Regions from separate parts of the Homo sapiens genome. Here regions 1, 2 and 4 are each linked to region 3. Evidence: promoter capture Hi-C in 16 types of primary human blood cells and fetal thymus (Javierre and others, 2016). All regions are on one chromosome and are shown on one strand. The core of a region is centred on a gene start or on the middle of the fragment in contact, and the rest is flanking DNA. Distances in the headings are between cores, read along the strand shown.

Evidence for each region. The method cuts DNA at HindIII sites, captures the fragments that hold promoters and counts their contacts. A CHiCAGO score of 5 or more calls a contact.
Region 1: a contact is called between a fragment that was not itself captured here and the fragment with the promoter of DARS2 in region 3, in 3 of 17 cell types (total B cells, naive B cells and naive CD8 T cells). The highest score is 16.1, in total B cells.
Region 2: a fragment that was not itself captured here is called in contact with the fragment with the promoter of DARS2 in region 3 in 11 of 17 cell types (naive CD4 T cells, naive CD8 T cells, naive B cells and 8 more); the score reaches 18.9 in naive CD4 T cells.
Region 4: a fragment that was not itself captured here is called in contact with the fragment with the promoter of DARS2 in region 3 in 7 of 17 cell types (naive CD4 T cells, naive B cells, naive CD8 T cells and 4 more); the score reaches 12.1 in naive CD4 T cells.

The regions. Positions count from the first base shown.
Region 1 is chr1:172,814,226-172,818,103 of GRCh38, forward strand. LOC107985225 (a long non-coding RNA gene) reads right to left here and starts at 3,472. Exons shown (of 3, transcript XR_001738297.2): 1 at 3,328-3,472; 2 at 2,989-3,122; 3 at 1,333-1,903. The HindIII fragment of the contact is 152 bases long and covers 2,290-2,441 here.
Region 2 is chr1:172,753,188-172,757,343 of GRCh38, forward strand. No RefSeq gene overlaps it. Among named protein-coding and RNA genes, the nearest start is that of FASLG, 96 kb to the left of the region's middle. The HindIII fragment of the contact is 2,826 bases long and covers 1-2,679 here.
Region 3 is chr1:173,823,029-173,827,067 of GRCh38, forward strand. DARS2 (aspartyl-tRNA synthetase 2, mitochondrial) reads left to right here and starts at 1,645. Exons shown (of 17, transcript NM_018122.5): 1 at 1,645-2,328; 2 at 3,659-3,758. The coding sequence starts at 2,202. It overlaps CENPL (centromere protein L), which reads right to left and starts at 1,855. Exons shown (of 6, transcript NM_001387287.1): 1 at 1,184-1,855; 2 at 898-991. RefSeq lists enhancers at 1,132-1,371, 1,349-1,867, 1,602-2,161, 1,868-2,385, 3,027-3,540. The HindIII fragment of the contact is 2,471 bases long and covers 1,542-4,012 here.
Region 4 is chr1:172,776,140-172,780,069 of GRCh38, forward strand. No RefSeq gene overlaps it. Among named protein-coding and RNA genes, the nearest start is that of FASLG, 120 kb to the left of the region's middle. The HindIII fragment of the contact is 1,739 bases long and covers 1,121-2,859 here.

The sequences.
Region 1 (3,878 bases), core at 1,116-3,615, 1.0 Mb before region 3:
ACCATTCTGTGGTCTGGAGGATGGTGGCCTTCTTCTCACAGCTCCATCAGGCAGTGTCACCGTGGGGTCTCTGTGGGGGCTCTAACCCTACATTTCCCTTCTGCATTACCCTAGCAAAAGTTCTCCATGAGGGCTCTGCTTCTGCAGCAAACTTCTGCCTAAACATTCAAGTATTTCCATACATCCTCTGAAATCTAGGCAGAGGTTCCCAAACCTCAATTCTTGACTTCTATGCACCCACAGGCCCAACACTATGTATAAGGTGCCAAGGCTTGGGGCTTGAGCCCTCTGAAACAATGGCCTGAGCTGTACATTGTCCCCTTTTAGCCACAGCTAGAGCTGAAGCAGCTGGGGTGCAGGGCACCATGTCCTGAGGCTGCATTGAGCAAGGGGGCCCGGGGCCCAGCCCATGAAACCATTTTTCCCTCCTAGGCCTCCGGGCCTGTGATGGGAGGGGCTGCTGTGTCTCTTATATGCTCTGGAGACATTTTCCCCATTGTCTTGGTGATTATGCAAATTTCCACTACTGGCTTGAATTTCTCCCCAGAAAATGAGGTTTTCTTTTCTATCACATCATCAGGCTGCAAATTTTCCAAATTTTTATGCTCTGCATCCTCTTAAATGCTTTGCCACTTAGGAATTTCTTTCACCAGATACTCTAAGTCATCTCTCTCAAGTTCAACGTTTCACAGATCTCTAGGGCAGAACCAAAAGATGCTGCCGGTCTCTTTGCCTAGCAAGAGTGACCTTTATTCCCATTCCTAAAAAGTTCCTCATCTCCATCTGAGAGCACTTCAGCCTGCATTTTATTGTCCATATCACTATCAGTATTTTGGTCAAAGCCATTCAACAAGTCTAGGGAGCTCCAAACATTTTCACATTTTTCTTTCTGCTTCTGAGCCTCCAAACTGTTTCAACCTCTGCCCAGATCCAAAGTCACTTCCACATTTTTGGGTTTCTTTACAGCAGCACCCCACTCTCTGTGGTACCAATTTACTGTATTAGTCTGTTCTAACACTGCTAGTTAAGACATACCTGAGACTGGGAAATTTGTAAAGGAAAGAGGTTTAATTGACTCACAGTTCAACATGGCTGGGGAGGCCTCAGGGAACTTACAATCATGGTGGAAGGGAAAGCAAACACATCCTTCTTCACATGGCGGCAGCATGGAGAAGTATGAAAGCTGAGTGAAGGGAGAAGCCCTTATAAAACCATCAGATCTCATGAGAACTTAATCACTGTCATGACAATAGCATGGAAGAACTACCCCATGATTCAATTACCTCTCACCAGATCCCTAGGACTCTTAAACTGTTTATTTTTCTTCACGCTTTTTTTTCTTTTTGTTCCTCAGACTGGACAATATCAAACTCAATTTCACCATGTACTTAACTTTACTTATGCTCTTTATTTCTTTGTGTGGATTCAAGTTACTCTCTAGTGTTGTTTAATTTTGCCTGAAGAATTCCCTATACTATTTCTTGTGAGGGAGATCTGCTAGCAGTAAATTTTCTCAGTTTTTGTTTATCTGAGAATGTCTTAAACTCCCCTTCACTTCTGAAAGAAAATTTTGCTCAATATAGAATTTTTGTGTGAGATTCTTTTTCTTTTAGCACTTTAAATATGTCATCCAACTTTTTTGGCCTTCTTAGTTTCAGATCATATGTCAGCTGTTCATTTCATTGCAGATCCCTTGTATGTGATGAATCATTTTTGCTGGCTGCTTTTGGGATTCATTTTTATCTTTGACAGTTTGACTAATACATGTGTAGGTGTGTACCTCTTTCAGCTTATTCTACTTGGAGTTGTTGAGCTTTTTTGATGTGTAGATTAAGATTTTCATCAGTTTGGGACATTTTCTGCCATTATTTTTTCACATACCAATATATGTACCATGGGAGTCCTAGAAGGAGAGGAGAGAGAAACAAAAGGACATAAAGAATATATATGTCCTAAGAATTTTCAATACCATTTACTAACTATTAGATAGAAGTAATAGTTTTTTCTCCCCCTTATTAATCTCTTTTTTCTTCTACTTAATCATTAAGAAATATCGCCTTTTATAATAGTCACTAATATGTGACTATTTATAATCAAAAATAATATGAGAATCAATCATATGCAAGTTGATATAATACGACACAATTTGCCAGAGAGAAGTTATACAGAAGGAGGAAATAAGAAGAAGAAGAGCAAGTTGAGTGTTCTATGGTTTTGTCAGCTTTGTCCCTTCCAATTTGCTAAAGCTTATGTGGTTTCCTTTACTATAGTGAATATGTGAGGGGAAGAAGCTTGAAACAAGGAGGTCCTGTTATATGCCAATATTGATCTATAAAAACTCTAGATGAAGCTGAAAAAGTTCTGGGGTAAAATCCAAGGACACAAGTAATAGACATTTAAGAATCATTACATTTTCTTTCTAAGTAAGAATGTAGAAGTCAAGCTTTATATAATTCAAGAGGAGCAGAAAGGTAAGAATAACCTAGAGAGAAGAGCAAGGAAGTGGGATTCTAGGAGAAAAGGTTTTTTGTTTGTTTGTTTGTTTGTTTGTTTGTTTTTTGGCAGGAGGTGTGACAAAAATGGAAAAGAGAAAGTAAAAAATATGGGTAACCCCACAAGAAAAGCAAATACAAAGGTCAAATCGGGTGAGTAAGAATAAGTGCATGAAATAAAGAGGGATGAACAAACGGGGTGGGGAATTTTCAGGGTAGGAGAAAAAGATGGGAACTTTGAAAAAAGTGGGAATAAGGGAGAAAAGGGTATTAGTACTGAGCTTTGAAGGAATGGTTGAGGGAATTATAGAAGGTCAAATGATGGAAATGGGTGCAGCTTGAGAGAAAAAAAGAGTTACTGGGTTAGGATGACAAGAAAGGCAAAGTGATGAGGCTTTGCCTTTGACTCTTGGACTGTGTTTAATGAAGCTAAAAGCACACACTTGTTAGGTTATAAAGTGAGGTAAAGAACTATCGAGGGAGAGAGACTGAGTACCTGATGTCAATTCTTATTACAGTTCTTTAAGATTTCTGTTTTATCAAAGGATCTCACTTTCTTCCCACCTCATTCTACAATGTAGTAGTATTCTAACACTCATGCACATCAAGGTACTTGTGGGAGAGAATATCCTGTAAGAAAAACATATACAACCTATAGATTTCTGATTCATAGCACATGAGGAGTTCATTAAAAACACACAGAAAATAACAAGACAAAAAACTTTGGACACCCCCCTCCCGAAGCTCATTCATGGGTCCCATCCTTTAATCTCACCAATTTACATAAATATGAAACACCTGACCAAGTTTTCAAGTAATTTGTCACTCATCTTACCTCCTAAGGAAGACTATGTTTTCATTTAACAACAAATAGGCCAGGTGCAGTAGCTTATACCAGTAATCCCTTTAGAACGCCAAGGTAGGAGGATCGCTTGAGGCCAGGAGTTTGAGACCAGCCTAACATACAAGGACCTTTGATTCTGCAAAAGATAAAAAGCATTAGCTGGGCATGGTGGTGCTCACCTATAGTCCTAGCTATCCAGGATGCTGAGGCAAAAGGATCATTTGAGCAAAGGAGTTCAAGGTTACAATGAGCTGTGATCGCATCACTGCATTCCAGTATGGGTGACAGTTCTTGCTCACAAGAACCTGTCTTTATAAAACAAATGAACAACTTAACAACAAATACTTGTTAACAGATATTTAATTTACTATGTGCCAGATATGTACTCCAGGCACCTGAACAACATGAAAATAGAATGTTTTGTTTTCCTCTAGCCATGTCTATTTGCTGGTGTAGTCAGACAGTTTGGGGACAAGCAGAGGATTGTGGTGTTTTTGATGGTGGTGAAAGTGGAAGGATTATCCCAGGGATAGCATTATTAA
Region 2 (4,156 bases), core at 17-2,516, 1.1 Mb before region 3:
GTAGAACCTTGCACTTCCACTCATTTGGAGGACTGGGATGTATAACTTAAGCTATTCTTAAGGGCTTTTAAGCCAAACAGACATCCTGGTCTTTTTCCTGGGAAAGGAACTACAGAGTTTCCAGACACAGTGATCTGAAACACTTCCGAGACATAAGCTGCTTTTGAGAGATGGCCTCGTAGAAAGAAAAGTTGACCTACTCTTTCAACACATTGTCTGCAAGTCTGTTTTTGTTCATTCCAATCACTTCATGTGAGCAAAGGATGAACTGAATTCTTGTCCTCTAGGAATAATTGTTTAAATAAAGAAGGTTTTATTGTTTTTTCTTTTCCTCTTCCTTTCTTCCTTCTTTTCTCTCATTATTTTATTTTTCCCAAGAATGTTAATTGAGGTTAGAACCAAAGAACAGAGATAGGATATGAATAAAACATGGTTTTTGCCCGAAGGAGATAGACATGTCATAAGTTACAATGTAATATTTTTTTCTGTAATAAGGATATCTGTAAAATTTAATGGCAGCACAAAGCATGAGTGCTTAACTACCAAGGGTAATTAGGTGAGTCTTTATACTGTAGGTGAAATCTAAACAGGGTCTTGGAGAATGAATAAAAGTTTGACAGGTGAGTTATTTATATTGGTAAATTAAAAATTTAATGTACCCCAAGAACTAAGTGACAGAAGCCACATAAACAAAACCATTTTTCTTATTACCTTAATTAAACTTGGGGGAAAAGAAAACTAAGGTTGAGAACTAGAAAATGATAGAGAAGCCCAACTCCAACTCTAAAATGTGGCCTTTAAGAAATTGGCCAGAGATCCTGAGCTGCCAACGGTTCTACCAAGCATTTCCTGCTTCTAGGTGATCTGAAGTTTCTGGTGGGAGGTCTTTAGAGCTAGTGTCTGGCTCTCTATCAAATATCGCTTTCCTAGCCATCAGAGGGGCCCCAACTACTCAAAACTGAAATTGTTACTTAAACCACAGCTTTGACTACTCAGCCCCCCAAGTCTCCAGTCATACTTTACTTGTTAATTATCTCTACTCCCACACAGAACCTGCCTTTTTCTGCTGGGTGATGCCAGTAAACTCACCTCTGACTAGGATTAGGTTATATGGGAGGTCAAAGCCCTATGGGATTTTTAGAATGTTTAGTAGAGTATTAAAGCATCCTTGGGGGCTGCCCCTCATAGATGTGCCAATGTGACCTATCCCCATCCTAACTCCTCACATAAACATGGTGGCTTTCTTCTAAAGTTCACTTGCGGTAAATGGTTGTGAATAAGTACACAACTAAAATGAACTATTTACTAGCTAATTTTTGGAGACATTTTACTTTTAGGACAAAAAGCCAAATGACAAAATAAAACTTCTAGGGGATCAATCCAGTTTTAGTTCAATCTCCCCAATCTTCTATTCTACATCTATTTTCCATATATGTAATTATAAATAATTAGGCTGACAACCTAAAAAAAAGATTGTTGATTGTTTTGTACTTGTGAATGCCAAAAACATTAGAGCAATAAAAATTAAAACAGTGTATACCTGTGTAACAAATCTGCATGTTCTGCACATGTATCCTGGAACTTAAAGTAAAATTAAAAAAAAAAAAAAAAAAGGAAGTGACTGCAGATTAACCACAGAATTAACTTGAAAATTCTCTTCTCTATGTGTTCGGGTTCATTGATTTCTTTCTGTGAAACTTCATGTATTCTGTTTTCTTAAACTAAAAAGGAGTTTTAAAAGAATTGTTTTACATGTCCAAGAAGAAAATGTAGTCAATGAAAAATAGGAATCACATTCTAATTTTAATTTAACTCATTGCTTAATATTCATTGGATAATTTTTGTTTCCTTATACCTGATCACTGCACACTTTTTATTTCAAAATGAACAGAAGGAAAATAGCCACGAAAATAAATGCTCAGGCTCAGTTACAAATTCTATCTGCATTCAGCTGGTGACTTTAGATAGGGTTGAGAATCGAAATCACTTACGGAGCTTTGTAAAAATCGTACTCTTTTTTCCACTCCCTGACATTTTTATTCACTGGATCTGGGTGCCGTCTGGACGTATTTATTTTGGAGATGCATTCTGTATGATTTTGATGCTTTCCCATTTTGAGAACTACCAGTTTAAATTATTTTCGTTTTAGTCTTTGTGTCCTCTATTGTACCTTCTCTAATTTGCCGCTTACTGTTTATTGAGCAATTTGTATTTCCTTATATGTATTACTTCACACCTCCTTATTCCAAAATGAACATGGAAAATTCAGAAGAGATGACTAGCAATATCTAGATAGCAATATCTAGATATCCAGTAGTTCCCAGTCAGTTAGTTAGAGCTCAGCATAGGGTTCCCTGGAGAAGGCAGAGACCCAAGAAAAATGGGAAAGTCTTGTATATTCAGAGACCTGGGTAGGAGTGTATAGACCGGGTAGCTCATGGGGATGCAGGAGCTGTGTCAAGGGTGTTTCTGGAAGGTTGGAAAGGGCCAGCTGTTTTCTAGCTACCCCTTTTCTCAGGAACAAAGCAGGGGATCATGATTCTTAGGGTAGGGGAATCGATATTTTGCCTAGTTAGTTTCTTGGTTCCATAAAGGAATTGATGTTCTCACCGGGGCCTGCTGAATGGACTGGAACTATAGAAGAAGGGCTCGACAGTCTCAGTTCAAAAGGTCTCACAAAGCTTAAACTCTCACTGGAATGCCGAATCGTAATCCCCCGATCCTGGCACACTACTGAGAGCACCACCATGAATCAGGAAGTAAACACCTATCATTAGTGAAAAACTGTCCAAAGAAGTGAATCTGCCAAAAAGAGGGCACTTGAACTCAAATATTCACTCCTGTACCTGTATTCTTTTCTACTTTTAATTTAAACTTCTAATTTGAATGTACTCTAAACTTGAAATCCAGTGTCTCAGTTTTTTGCTTTCCAGACTTGGAGGAATTTCCCCAACGTCCCAATACCCCACTGGGTTTCACTCTGCACTGGGTCTGTAGCTTTCCAGGAGTTCTATTGCTTCCTCTTCTTTCTTTCCCATTTTTGCAAACACGGTGACATAATGACTGTCCCTCTCCTTTTATGAAACCACATAAAGTCATAACAAGCAAATGATCATACTCCAGCGTGGACTTTACAGTTATTTTTTTTTCTATGTGTCTTGTGGGAGGGTGGAGTGGAATTCGTCTCAAATTGACTGCATTTCTAGTTGAAGGTATGTAATCTCTAGCCACTTTCTCATTTTTCTTTAGGTCTTGGTACAGCAAAGATAATCCTGAACCTGAATAAAAGATTTGATGGATAAGGATGAAAGGAGATGAAGATTTTCAAAAGAGAGATTTCTCTTTCTCTTTTAACCTCTTTAGAGAGAAACATCCCTTTATTCTCACAATTATGAAACAAAATGTCATTTTGTTCTTTGAAAACCTGAAATTAAATTTTAGACAAAAGTTGTTATTAGTAGAGTCACTACACATGAGAAAGAAGATATATTCATTGTAAGCAACATTTCCTAGTGACAAATAGCTTTAAGATTTGTTTCAGACGTAAAACACAGCTACCAAGGAGTGCAATTGCTGGATTGCAGTTGTATGGTAAGACCATGCTTCGCTTTGTAAGAAATTTTCAAACTGTCTTCCAAAGCAGCTGTACAATTTTTCATTCCCACAGGCCATAAATTAGAGTTCCTGTTGCTCCACACCCTTACCAGCATTTAATGTCTGTATTTTGGTTTTGGATTTTTGCCATTCCAATTGGTGTATGGTGGTATCTTGTTTTAATTTGCAATTCCCTAATGACATATGATGTTGAAGATCTTTCCGTGTATTTATCTGCCATCTATATACCATCTTTACTATATGTTTACATCTTTTCCCCATTTTTAAATTGGGTTGTTTGCTTTTTAACTTGATATTTCAAGAGTTTTTGGTATATTTTGGATACAATTCCTTTACCAGATATTTGTTTTGCAAATACTTTCTTCCTATCTGTGGCTCGTCTTTTCATTCTCTGAAGGGACCATAGTTTAAAAATGAGATATGTTATGTCATGCCAATAAACAGTATTCTTGGTTTCCTGGGAGTGCTCAATTACAATGTTAGGAAAGGGGAAAACAGGGAAACTTAAAAGTTAAATTCTCTTAACTATGGGAACTTAAAG
Region 3 (4,039 bases), core at 395-2,894:
CACCTGGCCTCTGACATATTTCTTAAAAAGATATACACTTGTCCTCTTAGATGTGGGCTTCACTTTCATTCTCAATTATAGCTACTTATCTTGTTCCCAATCTTAGCCCCTTTCCCTAATCCATCATCAGTCTTTCATTGTCACCACTTTTATCATTACCTTGCTTGAGATCCCATAACAGTTCCCACACATCTATATGAAGTCAAATCAGAATTCCTGTCTGGCTTTCAAGGCACTACTGTATTTGATCTTATTATCTGATCCTATCCAGGTTCATTTTCTACTACTTCAGTTCTTCCCCAAGATCCATCGACATTAGCCTTTCCAAAATCCAACATTCTGCATACACTTCCTCTAAGGTTTTGTATACAACATTGGGGGGTGGGGGGATGGGAGTGAAGAAAGTTCCAGTAGACAATTCTTTAAGAGGTTAAATGACAGCCCTATACCCAAACATGCACCCCCTACTCTAGACAGATGATCACTCTACTGTTCTCCCTGCCTTTTTATTCACCTTATCGCCAATTAAAAACACTTCTCTACTCCCGTTTGTCTCAGTAAATCTTATCCATTTTCCATGTGCCATCTCCTCAGAAGTTTTCCTGAGCTTGGCAGGGCTAGTTCTCTTGACAATTCCACTTGCAGTTGTGGTTCACAGCACACAAGTAAAGCTTTGTTGTTTCTCTTGTGATTAGTCCGTGAAGGGGCTCTGACTTGATCACTTTTCTACATTGCCACCAATACCTAAATCCAACCGCCCCAATGCCAATACTTAGCCAGTGTTAAGCACGTAGTGTTTAAACACACCTCAACACGCAAGTATTGTAAGATAATGACCACACAACAGGGCAAATACAAAGTTAAAGCAGGTCCGGGACCAATACAAAGCATCTTTACCAATAAAATGCCGTGATGACGCTGTCACCCATTCCGGATTCACGAATCATTCTTCAAAAGTCCGGCTCCAAAACTATGTGGAGACTGAAATCCCCTGAAGAAAAAAAAAAAAAACCGCCAAAATGACAGCTAAGACAGAGGCCAGACTAACCCCTGGCCCTCCCAAATTCCCTCTCGCTCCACAAGTGGGTTCACAAGAGACACAAACGCACCCAGGAAGACCTCCGCTCCCTCAGACGCGGGGCGGGCCCTGCGACTTCACTCTGGGAGGGACATTTCCGCTCACCCAGCTCTGCGACCCTCGCTCCTGCGGAGTCAGCTTCTGCTCGCGGAGGGGGAAGGGCAAAAGGACAGTGCGTCCCAACCCGTCCCTCTCCAGCTGAGCCTGTCAGAGACCAGCCCAGCTCTGAAATCAAGCCGTTGAGAAAAGGGAATTCGGCCCTCCGCCGCCTCTTCAGTTTAAAATCGTTTCCCGACTCGCTCTGCGGCCCCACGCAGGAAGCCTCCTTGGCGCCTCGCCGATTCCGTATCAGTGAAGCAACTAAAATTGCCATTTTAACTGAGGGCAAGGCCGAGCCACTTAACCACTATCGTCAACCTTTCCAATCGTGCTCGGTTGCTCCTCAGTTTTCCTACCGGTGCGAAGCTTTCTCTCAAATTTCCGCCCGTAGTAGGCATGGCGGCGGCACCTCACCACTGATTCGTTGAATTCCTTCCCGGTAATCTTGGGCACTAGCGGGCGGAGTTGAAGGGCGCTTGGACCCCAGCGGCGATCTGTGTTTGGGTTCGCGCTCTGGGAGAATTTTGGCTTTGCTCGCCTTCCTCTTTCAGAAGACTCGAAATCGGCCAGCAGGTCTGCGAGATTTGAAACGCGACTGTTACTCCTTGTTTTCCGGTTCTGGCCGCGGGAGCCTCTCGAGAAGCGTGGAAAGAGGAGAAGGGCGTATACCTTGTGACCGCCTCTGGTTGTCTTGGGCTCGCGCCTGGCGCCGCTACGTGGAGTCGCTCTCTCGTCGTCACTTTTGGCTGCCGACTTGTTGAGTAGAAGTGCAGACTGATGCTTTAAGACTCAGGGAGAGGTCTTTCCCTTATCTCCACCCCAGCAAGCACCCCAGAGACCTTGGAGATTTGTCTTGTTTCTAGACACGTGTACTCCAATGTTGTGCGGAGGAGGCCTTAAATATTCGAGAAGAGAGTGGGAACTCCTGGAATTTTAAGGGATTTCTGTGTATTTCCAAAACTGACTTTTAACTACCGGCAGCGTGGGATTTCGTGATTGTTTTTCGCCATCGTGTGGCTCCAACATGTACTTCCCTTCTTGGTTAAGTCAGCTGTACAGGGGTTTATCCAGACCCATCAGAAGGACCACCCAACCGATCTGGGGTTCTCTCTACAGAAGTCTGTTGCAGAGTTCACAGAGGAGAATTCCAGGTGAAAATAGCGAAGAGATCTATCCTATGAACAGTACTTCAGCCTGTTATCTACGGCCGGAGAGCTTTTATTCCATTTTTCATTTTTTCCCCCATTATTATTATTATTATTATTATTATTATTATTATTTGAGACGGAGTCTCGCTCTGCTGCCCAGGCTAGAGTGAAGTGGCGCGATCTCCGCTCACTGCAAGCTCCGCCTCCCGGGTTCACGCCATTCTCCTGCCTCAGCCTCCCGAGTAGCTGGGACTACAGGCGCCCGCGACCACGCCCGGCTAATTTTTCTGTATTTTTGGTAGAGCCGGGGTTTCACTGTGTTAGCCAGGATGGTCTCGATCTCCTGACCTCGTGATCCACCCGCCTCCGCCTCCCATAGTGCTGGGATTACAGGCGTGAGCCACCGCGCCCGGCTTTTCCCCTGTTCTTAACTGGATAGCCTTATGTGTAGAAGCGAAATTCACTCTCATTATATTCATTATACGGCAGTTTTTTTTCCCTGAGTTTTTAGAAAGACCACAAAAAGGTAACCACGTAATATATAGAATACTCTGCTTTTGGTTGATGCCTTAAAAAAATCCTTCTTCGGCCGGGCGCGGTGGCTCACGTCGTTAATCCCAGCACTTTGGGAGGTCGAGGAGGGCGGATCACGAGGTCAGGAGATCGAGACCATCCTGGCTAACACGGTGAAACCCCGTCTCTACTAAAAATAAAAAAAAAATTAGCCGGGCGTGGTGGCGGGCGCCTGTAGTCCCCGCTGCTGGGGAGGCCGAGGCAGGAGAATGGCGTGAACCTCGGAGGCGGAGCTTGCAGTGAGCCGAGATCGCGCCACTGCACTCCAGCCTGGGCGACAGAGCGAGACTCCATCTCAAAAAAAAAAAAAAATCATTTTTCACAGAATTATAATAGTGTTTTCTAGTGTACAAGTGGCTGTTAAACACTAGATTCATACTAAAGCTAAATAGTTCCTACACCGTCCATTTCTGCAGTTTCTAAAATCCTATTTCATTTGAGGAAGAAATGTGCAATATTAAGAATTGGGTAATTAGGATTTTAGGTCAATGCAAATGCTAGAAGATCAAAAAAATTTTGATTTCCTAACACAAGACAGAAATTTACATTCAGTTATTCACTTGGCTTTTGACACATTTGCAGGTAAATTTAATAGTGAATGAATTAAATTACATACTCTGACTTATTTTATTTTATAAATTTCCCCTGTAGCCCTGACATACCTAAGATATATTTTGAGAATTTTCATTTTTAAGCAACCTGCAAGTGATGTATTTTTAATCTTGCCTTTTAAAGTTTCTTTTTTTTTTTTTTTTTAAAGAATTCAGTAGCTTTGTTGTCCGGACCAACACATGTGGAGAGTTGCGTTCGTCTCACTTAGGCCAAGAAGTCACCTTGTGTGGATGGATTCAGTACCGAAGGTAAATTGAGAAAGACAGTCTAAGAATGCATGGTGGTGGTTTTCCCAGGGCAATTCCAAACCTTTACTAATTTACAACCAGTCCGAAGAATAAAACGTTTTGCAACTCCTGCAGGATTAAGAACTTACTGAATTTTCAACTTTGTTTTAGTTTTGAAAGACCCAAGTGTCATTCTCAGTAGACATTTTGAAAGACCCAAATGTCATTCTCAGTAGGTACATCTCAGTAACATCTGTTGAAGGGTATAACAACGAAGCTTGATCCACCAGTGGACTGAAATG
Region 4 (3,930 bases), core at 740-3,239, 1.0 Mb before region 3:
AACATTCTTATTTATTTGACGTGGATATTGCATGCCTGGTAGATGTGTTCCACAAGAAATTCTTGGTGGGAGTCAACCTAATCACAGTGAAGGAATAGTCTTTGAGAGAAGGGCTTTACTTACTTGACAGCTATCTGCTTTTATTTGAGAAGCTAAGATGGGAGGATTCGGATTACGTATTGCCAGTTGCATTCTTTGTTTCTCTTTTGAAATATGAGAATTGACTCGGACTGTGCAAACTATTTTCTTCTCATTTCTTTATTACCACATATTTAACGTGTGTCAACAAGCTGACTCTTAATTGGCTGGCTCAAGTACAGCGACAGGATTCTATAGGAAGGGGGAGCAAAGCCATAAGCAAACTTAAACATTTCTTGATGCCATTATAGCTCTCAATGGCCATCTTATACTAATGCCTATTTCTCTACATCACACACACACACACCCGCCCCCACATTCAGCACTTTATATTATAAAGTGGCAAAAACCACAATTACTTTTGCACCAACCTAATAGTAACTCACTACATGTAAGGAGATTGTGGAGATGCAAACTTCTCTTCCCTTTACCTTACTGGCTTCTTTCTAATAAGCTGAACTTGGGTGTGAGGGTAGTCAGAGAGAGGCAAGGTTACTCTAATTTTCCATTTGCAGGATATCTATGTTTGAAAGAAGACAATTCAAATGCTGGCTTTACCCATGCAGCGACAAACAATTTTTACTCTTACTTTTATGGGCTTCAGAGAGGCTACACAATCTCTCAGAAGTCCCTGCTGACTGTGATTTTTAAAGGAATGTTATTTTGGAAGTGAAGTGACTGAGAAGTAACTATAATCTTCAGGGGTAGAGAAACAGAAAAGATATGAGGTTGGCATAATAGTCTTGGGAAGATAGAATAAGACAAAGAAGAGCTTATAGTTTTAGAGCTGAACTCAGGTTGGATCTTTTATCTGATAACATTTTAAATATTCAGTGTTATTCTCTATCATTACAAATAGCCAGAAAATAATTTTGTTTTCATAAGGAAGTGATTTAAAAAGGAAGAATTTAGGGAAAAAATTACAAGAAATGATTCTCAGTGAGGGTTGGCTACTTGAAAGTTATCAAAGTAGGCTTCAGAAAGCTTAACTGTCATGTATCCATCAAAGAGTGAGAGGAATTAATGAATTCTACATGAATTCAGTATGTTCTACAAACATAGGAAGATCTAAATTTAGTGTTGTATGAATATTTTTTCATTTAAGAATTGTTACCAGTTACCTCATGATTGGTACACTGGGTTAAGCATTAAAAGATCTGAAATTGGGAGGAAGAAAGAAAGAGAGTAATGTATCTGGAGCCATGACAAAGAAAGTTTTTAAAACAATTGCTTATTTATCCTTAATTCATCGTAATAACCATTACTGTTCTCAAACCTAAAAAAAAATCACTTCTGCCATTTTGCTTCCTCTTCGACCTTTTATCTTCCTTTTCTTGTACTCATATGTAAAATATTTCTGTGACAACTTGAGTAGTAGTTAATCTGCTTATGCCATTCTGGACAGACACAAAGAGATGGTGTCCCCATGTGTGGGAATTACTCCCAGTGCAGCGGGAATGAAATTAAACTACAATCTCAAGTCCTCTGAAGAAGTCCCTGAAGAGTACAGCCCCTGGTTAAAATCCATGTGTGAATTTTCAGGCCTGACCATAGGCAATTACAATGGCTTTACCTGGCAGGCCTCGTGGGGAAATCTGCCTTTCCCTCACCAGACTTTATAGCCAATGCACTGCAGCCTCAGGAGAGAGTGGCAGTCAAGGACTCAGGTCCCCCAGCCAATCATGCTCTTTCACATATTTACCTTCGTAACCCAGGAACCTTCATTCCAAGGTCTCTGACACCTCCGACAGAGACCTTCTTCAGGTTCCTCTGCTGAAACCTTCTTATGCAGGAGGAGGGAAAAACCTTGAAGACATGTTTCCACATTCTGACCCAATACTCAGGAATTTTCCCCACCCCTAGCCCTTCTCCTCTTCTCTCCCCAGCACTCCTCTTCTCATATCTATGATGATCCATCTGACTCTTAATTGGTGTGCCTTTCTTTTGGGAAAAATGGAACAGGGGGAGTCAGTGCCTCCGCCAGTTTTAGCCTCTTGCTTATGCCATTGCAGCATGTGATTAAAAGCTGAATCCTGTCATTTTTACTGGTTGTTTTAATAGGCTGCGCTGATACCTGGCCACTCAGCTCTCTCTCTCTCTCTCTCTCTCTCTCTCTCTCTCTCTCTCTCAGCTGAGTTCCTGACAGTCCCAGCTTTGCCTCTTACTGGTTGTGTGACCTTAGGCAAATCATTTAATGTTTCTCAGCTTCATTTTATCATATGTAAATTTAGGACAATAATACTCGATGAAGTTCTTATGTGGATTATATGAGGTGCTTGTGAAAAATACCTTACCTGGTAAATTGCGACTCAATTCTTAATCAGAAACAGAAACAGAAACAGTGGGTCACTAACCTAGGGTCCTCTAGGGAGAACTTGCACTTACATATTTTCCTGCAATGCCTTGGATTACATCATATGGCAAAGTCCTTTTATGTGTAAATGCCAGCTGTGAGGGTAATCACTTGTTAGTGTCTGTTTGCTTTCTTTGTTACCATTTTCTGGTTAATTCTGGAAGGAAAAATTTTTTGTCTTCTTGTCAGTATTTTTCTTTTATTTTGATGCTTTTTGTCAGATATGTTTCCCCCTAAGAGCTGACATTGATGTTGTATGGTGCATATGTTAATGTGGCAATGAGATATTGCAGTGAGATTACAGCTCCACAAGGGGGTACATAAATGACAGTCTCCAAACAGAAACCAGCATAGCTGCCAAAAAGGAAAGCTTCAAGATTCTCGGCTTCATTTTTCAGTTATGTTATTAGAATAAACACGTTCTCTAATGGCAGAAGGTACCTCAGATAAGGATCTATAGGTGATGTAGGATATCACTCAGCTACTCACAGACCTAAACAAGGCAACATTTCCCAAGATTATAATTTATCTGTGAAAGGTACTAGAAATGACTATATTTATCGCCCCATATCATCCCTTACAATCTCAGATGTCAGGGAAAAGCCCAAGGTCAGAAACCCAGATTGTGCTCATGTCTGTCAGGCAGAAGCTCTAGCATGAGCTCATAGGTATCTAGAAAACTTTGCGCAAACTGGGACAGAGCAGGCTACTTTCCTTTAAGCCAAACATCGTAAGGAGGCTTTTTGCTAAGTTTATTGTTAGATTTATTCCATTTTGAGTTTATTTTTAAGTGGTATTGCATTTGAGGTTGGTGCTAAGTAGCTCTCAATAATTCTCTGATCTTGATGTTGGCTTGCCTCACCATATGAAGACTGAGTCTGAGAAGAGGGAGATCTCAGTTCATGGGTCAGAAAATTGACTATTTCCATCACATGTGAGACATTTAGGTTCTGAGGGAAGAGGTGAACTTTTTCCAGTTCTGGCAAAGTTTTATTTAGACCAATGAGCTCATGCTAGAGAGTCTTTCGTGACAAATATGAGTACCATCTGGATTCCTGACATTAGCCTTGTTCCTCATCTCTGAGATAACCATCAAAACAAGCAAGTGCTACCCAGAAGTGTTTGTGTGTGCGTATGTGTGCGTTGGGGAAGGGGGAGTAGGATTCCTGACACATGTTCCATATGATTTCTCATAAGGTCCTCAAGAGAGCTCAGTCCCAGTTGCCCACACTGATAACCCACTTGTTAATATATCCCTTATCGGCTTTTTGCTTTTCCTTGTTTCATTTTTCCCACTTTCTCACCTGTGTTTCTTAGATCACCTCTCAAAATAAACTGCTTGTACCCAACTGCTTGTTTCAGTGTCTGCTTTTGGGTAACTCTAAGACAGAACCATTTAAAAAAATCCTTGAAGGATGAAAATCTAACACAAAAATGTG